2 separate regions of the Homo sapiens genome follow, and region 2 is linked to region 1. Evidence: promoter capture Hi-C in human tissues and cell types (Jung and others, 2019). All regions are on one chromosome and are shown on one strand. Each heading gives the region's core, a stretch centred on a gene start or on the middle of the fragment in contact. The rest is flanking DNA. Distances are from core to core; before and after follow the strand shown. Region 1 holds the start of PACSIN2 (protein kinase C and casein kinase substrate in neurons 2). Region 2 has its middle 55 kb from the start of A4GALT.

Evidence for each region. Contacts are between HindIII fragments. The study calls those that stand out against the background at their distance.
Region 2: a contact is called between a fragment that was not itself captured here and the fragment with the promoter of PACSIN2 in region 1, in 2 of the 25 tissues and cell types used here (IMR-90 fibroblasts and aorta).

The regions. Positions count from the first base shown.
Region 1 is chr22:43,013,674-43,016,835 of GRCh38, forward strand. PACSIN2 (protein kinase C and casein kinase substrate in neurons 2) reads right to left here and starts at 1,476. Exons shown (of 11, transcript NM_001184970.3): 1 at 1,348-1,476. RefSeq lists enhancers at 1,078-1,781, 1,764-1,963 and silencers at 1,204-1,273, 1,394-1,443, 1,454-1,643. The HindIII fragment of the contact is 29,159 bases long and covers 1-3,162 here.
Region 2 is chr22:42,774,436-42,777,597 of GRCh38, forward strand. It overlaps the pseudogene RPL5P34. Among named protein-coding and RNA genes, the nearest start is that of A4GALT, 55 kb to the left of the region's middle. The HindIII fragment of the contact is 4,216 bases long and covers 1-3,162 here.

The sequences.
Region 1 (3,162 bases), core at 226-2,725:
GGAATAACCGCAGAGGAAGGCACCGAAAAGGAGGGAAGGAAGAAGGTGTGAGCTCACCATCTGCAGCTGAGGTTCAAACTCTTTGAGCTGGTTTCCTGATTTTCATCAAGACAGCCAGGCAGTATTTGGTAAACAGTGTACCAAGTAGCCCTGGAGACTCTGAGCAGCCTACCCCCTTAACCACAAAAACACCGGACAGGCGGAGGGAAAAAGAGAAGACAGGATCCAGGAATGGTGCACACACCCAGCCAAAGGCCACCTTCCCTCAGGCACCCAAGCCAAGAGTGGCATCCCCAGGTCCTGTTATACGTCAAAGGCTGCAGCCGTGTGGGCCCCAAAGCAATAGCACAGCTTGCTCCCCTGACCAACCAACTCCTTCTGAAAAGAAAATCGACCTTCTCTGATGGAGCCGAAACCCAATGAATCAATGAAATTCAACAGCAGCAGCAATCACTACCTCTCCAATTGCGGACCTCTCAGGATGCCTGGCCAGGCTTGAAAGCCCTAGAGGAGTAAGGAGTTCGGATTTCTGATTCAGTGAGTCTGGGGAAACTCTGAGGAGGGTCACAAGGGCAAACCTCCCCGGCCTCTCCTGCTTGGCCCCAGCCCTAGGACGTGCTGCGGTAAGGGCTTTGCTCCCCCCGCCCTACACACACACACACACACACACACACACACAGACACACACACACCACCCCCCCCCCCCCGGGACACGGAGGGTGGGAAGGAAGGAAATGGAGGCCGCTCATCAAAGCGCCCGAAATCAGCGCACCCGCGTGTGTCCTGCGTCGCCCCCCAGGCCACCCCAGGACTAAGCCCTGCCCTCTCACCGGCGCGTCCCAGCCACGCCTTCCCTCCAGCGTTGCTCCGGCACCCTCGCCTAACCTCTGCACGTCTCGGATTCCCAGCTTTCTCCTAAATCGCGTCCCTCCAAAAGTCGCCCCAGCTCCCCCTTCTGCAGCTGTCTACACCTCCCCCACTCATTAGCAGCTCTTAACCCCCGACGGCCCTGCTCCTGCACTTCCCTCTCCAGCAGGCCCCGGACCCCGGAAAACTGCCCCGCTCCCACAGCGCCGCCCCCATGGGCCCCCGCCCCTTCCCCGAGCCGACCCCACTCGCCCTCGTCCTCCCCAAGATGTCTTCTCCAGGCGCCCCCCGGGGCCCCGAGCACTCGCCCCCTCCCACAGAGACAGGAAGTTCCGCGCGGCCCGACCCGCTTCCCTCAGGGCGCGGAGCTCGGCGCGGCGGCCCTGACGGGGCGCGGGCCCGGCCGCGGACCAGCGCCCCCGCGTCCCGCCCGCGGCGCCCCAACCGTCGCGGCGACCCCTGACCTCGGCGGCCACTCACCTCCCAATCCGTCGCACACTCCGTTCAGGCTGCCACGGCGTCTCCAGACCCAGCTCCGGCCGGGCTCCCGCTACCGCTTTTGCTCCGGCAGCACTGCCCAGCCCTGCCCAGACCCCTGCGGCCGCTTCTGCCGCCAGCCGCGACCGCACCGCCCCCGCCGCTCCCGCTGGGCTCTGTCCATTGGCTACCGGACACCGAGCCCCGCCCCACAGCCTCCCCGGCGCCCCCGATTGGGCCAGATGAGTAGAGAGGCGGCTCACCCCGCGTGAGGACGAGGGAAAGCCCCAGGACGCGCATTGGTGACTTCTCCTGTCAATCAAACGGGGAGTGCCTATTTAATGGGCTGCGAGGGTGGCGCAGATTACTCTCCCAAAGCCGCTCGCTGGTGGTGGTCCTTGAGACGCGCTTCCCGGGGCTGGAGTTTTGCGGTTTCGTCGGCATCCAGGGGTAAGAGGGCGCGGCAGGGCAGCACCGCACCTGACCGGAAGTTCAGGGAAGGTAATCCTACAGTCTTTCAGAAAGTTTCCTCTCCCAAGGGACTCAAAGAAGCTAATGTCGTTAGGAGCTCCTCCGACTTGCGCCAAAAGCGTCATTCCACGTGGACCCGCTTAGTTTAAACGGGGGGTTGGGGGGGCGTATGTTGCTGCTCTCTCTAATAAAATATATTTGGATGGCAAGGCACCAGGCAATGCACACGCATTCTTTCCAATTCTCACAATCACCTTGCATGATAGGGTATTAGCCCCGTTCTGCAGAGGGAAATACTCTTGAAGGAAAATGGAGAGCACTTCCTGAGCACTGTCCTACGCGCTGTCCAAGCACTGCTTCATGTCATCCAGGTGGAGAGGATGGTGAGAGGAACCCCAGGTGAGGGGTGAGCCAGGTAACTTGCTGGGGGTGATGTGGAGTAAAGAGAGTAAATGGCAGAGCCAGGATTAGAAACCCAGGTCAGCCCAACCCTTGAGAATAATAATGATGACTGTGTAGCACTATGGGAAAATGCTTAAACTAAAACGTTAAAAGAAAAAGCCAGATAGAGCCAGGCATGGTGACATGCACCTGGAATCCCAGCTTCTTGGGACGCCGAGGCAGGAGAATCGCTTCAGCCCAGGAGTTTGAGGCCAACCTGGGCCACATAGCAAGACCCAGTTCTCTAAAAAGTAAAATAAAAGAAAATAATAATAAAAGAAAAAGCTAGATACAAAATGGTAGAAACTGTAGAATTGCTGCTACATATAGATAGGTATGAGAAAAGAGTCCACAAAGAAATCTAGTGGTTGTTTACTTTCTAGACTGCTCTGTGGCATTGTCCTTATGACAATAATTGAGAAAGAAACAAAAGAACCGGCTAGGCACGGTGGCTCACGCCTGGAATCCCAGTACTCTGGGAGGCCGAGGCGGGCAGATCACAAGGTCAGGAGTTTGAGACCAGCCTGGCCAACACAGTGAAAGCCTGTCTCTGCTAAAAATACAAAAAATTAGCTGGGTGTGGTGGCATGCACCTGTAATCCCAGCTACTTGGGAGTCTGAGGCAGGAGAATCACTTGAACCTGGGAGGCGGAGGTTGCAGTGAGCCAAGATCACGCCACTGTACTCCAGCCCTGGCGACAGTGCGAGACTCCATCTCAAAAAAAAAAAAAAAAAACCAACACACAGTGCCAGGACAAACCACTGCCAAGAAGTCTCTCCTCATTCTCCAGGACTGAGCCAACAGGGACCTCTTTGCCACCCACAATACCTGTGGACCATTTGTATAGATAGAACTCAGCCATCAGCTCTCAGCACTTTCATATCTGGGTAAGTTCCGCTTACATC
Region 2 (3,162 bases), core at 334-2,833, 240 kb before region 1:
TCCAGACAGCCTGCCACTGCTGCAGCGGGGAGGTGCTACCCGGGCTACACGTTCCATGGAGCTGGCAGGAGCCCTGCCCCTTCTGAGTTGCAAGTCTGTAACTTCTGCAGCCACCCAAGTTGTGGCTGCAGATCTGAGCCTTCCTGTGCTCTTGCGGGGCAAGCAGGTAGGAGCCCTGTTCTCCTGGGTGCCACTGCAGCCACCCAAACTGTGGCTGCAGACCCGGGCCTCCTGCTCCACAGAATAGCCAGGAGCCCTGCCTCCTCTGGACGCACCTGCAGCCACCCAAACTGGTGGCTGCAGCTTCAGGCATCCCTCCACTCTTGGGGGCCTGGGAAGGCCCCCCCTCCCCGCCCTCACAGGCTCAAAAGTACCTGCCCCCACTGCCTGGCTTCTCCCTACTGTTGGCTGTCAACACCCACTCTGATCTCAGAGTAAAGCTGGGCTGAGCAGGGGCCATGAATGGCAGTGGGAGGCGGATTCCTGGGCAGAAGCCGGGGATACCCGATAAGACCCCACTTTCAGACCAGGGAGGGCCTGAAGGCTGAAGGCTGGGCTGCCAGATCCACAGACCAGAGTGGGGACCTGTGGTACCTCTTCTGGGTGCCCATGCACCAACTGGCATGCATTTCCTCCTCTCTGAGGTCCGTAAACACCCCAGTCTCAGCCAGAGCAAGGCAGAGGATGGAGAAACAACTGGAGACTGGATGACCAGCTGCAGAGAGGAGCTACCTTCTCTACTGAGAGCTGGGAAGTCAACAGGGACCTGCCTGCAGAGTGGAGCCACCCACTCCAGGGCCTCCAGGGCCTCCTCCCTATGGAGAGCTGAACACTGGAGGAGATGACCTGCTTACAGAGAGGAGCTGCCCACTGCGGGTCTCCTCTGAGCTGTCCTAAGATTCAGTAGAGCTTTTCTTTGTCTTGCTCACCCTCCACTTGTCTGTGTACCTCATTCTTCCTGGACACAGGACAAGAACTCAGGCAAAGGCTGGGATTACAGGCGTGAGCCCCTGTGCCCGGCCCAGTACCTTGACTTTGCTGCAATGCATTCCACTTCCTGTACCATTTGTTTATTTTTATTTTTATTTTATCATTATTTTTTGAGACAGAGTCTACTCTGTCCCCCAGGCTGGAGTGCAGTGGTGCGATATTGGCTCACTGCAACCTCCGCCTCCTGAGTTCAAGCAATTCTCCTGCCTCAGCCTCCCAAGTAGCTGGGACTACAGGCACATGCCACCATGCCCGGCTAATTTTTGTGTTTTTAGTAGAGACTGGGTTTTGCCATGTTGGCCAGGATGGTCTCGAACTCCTGACCTCAAGTGATCCACCTGCCTTGGCCTCCCAAAGTATTGAGATTACTGGCGTGAGCCACCACACCTGGCCCAGTACCTTGATTTTGATGCAATGCATTCAACTTCCTGTATCATTTAAATGTAGTGGAATTGTTATAAAGACTAATGTTATAGGCCAGGCGCGGTGGCTCACACCTGTAATCCCAGCACTTTGGGAGGCCGAGGCAGGCGAATCACAAGGTCAGGAGTTCGAGCTCAGCCTGGCCAACATGGTGAAACCCTGTCTCTACTAAAAATACAAAAAATTAGCTGGGTGTGGTGGTGGGTGCCTGTAATCCCAGCTACTTGGGAGGTTGAGGCAGGAGAATCGCTTGAACCCAGGAGACGGAGGTTGCAGTGAGCCAAGATTGAGCCACTGCACTCCAGCCCAGGCGACAGTGCGAGACTCTATCTCAAAAAAAAAAAAAAAAAGATGAATGTTATACCTCCCAGTTTTCTGGATAATGTTCTCCGTAAGGTTTATACATTGACTACGATGCCAATTATAGTTAAGGGCAAGCTTGTTTCTCATAAATGATGTGACTTCAAGTTAATTACTTGGCTTTTTTTTTTTTTTTTTGCTGGCCCTAAGTTTATTGTCTGTATCTGAAAAATCATCATAGAAAATTGTTTGGTTTAGCTCTCAGCAGCCCGCTCCTGAGCTCTGAGGAAGCTTGCCTTCTTTTGAGCTACCTGATCCTTCTTCTGAGCAAGGGGCATTTTGGGAAGGTTCCACCTCTCCTTTTTAACTTCTTTCTTGGGCTTCTTTTCATAGACTGGATTCTCTCGTATAGCAGCATGAGCTTTCTTATACATCTCCTCCATCATGTCTGGAGTTACGCTGTTCTTTATGTATTGAGAGAACTGTTTCTTGTAAGCATCGTCATCTTCTTCCATTAAGTAGCGCATGTAATCTGCAACATTCTGGCCCATGAAGTGCTTCTGGTGTACTCCTGCATTAAATTCCTTGCTTTCAGAATCATAACCAGGGAATCATTTGGTGCTGTGAGGGACAGACAAGCCTCCATCCACAACTCCCTTCAGGGCGCCAAAAACTTTATTGCCAGTGGTAGTTCTGGCAAGACCTGCATCCATACAGCAGGTGAAGGCACCTGGCTGACCATCAGTACTTTCCACATTGTATTTATCGCCAGTCACCTCCACTTGGCCGTCATAGATCTTGTCCATGCCAAACCTATCAAGAAGCCTGCGGGCCAGCAGCAGGCCAGTACAATATGCAGCAGCATAATTTGTCGGGCCAACCTTCACACCGTATTTTGGCAGTTCGTGTGCATATGCCGCGCAGACTATCATATCCCCCTCTATACGGGCATAAGCAATCTGACAAATGATATCTCTGTCAGTTACACGAACAATCATCCTATACTTGGGTGTGTTGTATTTATTTTTATCCTGTATCACCAAGCGTTTCCGAGCATAGTAATCAGTTTTACCCTCTCGTCGTCTTCTAAATTTCACTTGGTATCTGTTAAAGTAGGCCTTATTCTTAACAACTTTAACAAACCCCATCCAGCGGAACAGAGACCCGCGTCCGCGGCTCGACAGAGACCTGCAGGCCCAGCGGTGCCAGGGAGGGGAAGAGGCTACTTGGCTTTTTTGAGCCCAAAAGCCTGAATTTGTTATATGATGGGATCAGAATCCTTTGTCTCTGAAATTCTTTTCAACTCTAGTTGTGGGTCATTCTATATTTTAGTCAATAGTTAAGTTATCCATAAAAATGACATATTTCTTCTAAAGCCAAAATAGAAAATCTGTCTTCTTTAAGAGCAATTTCTGACCGGGCATGGTGGCTCATGCCTGTAATCCCAGC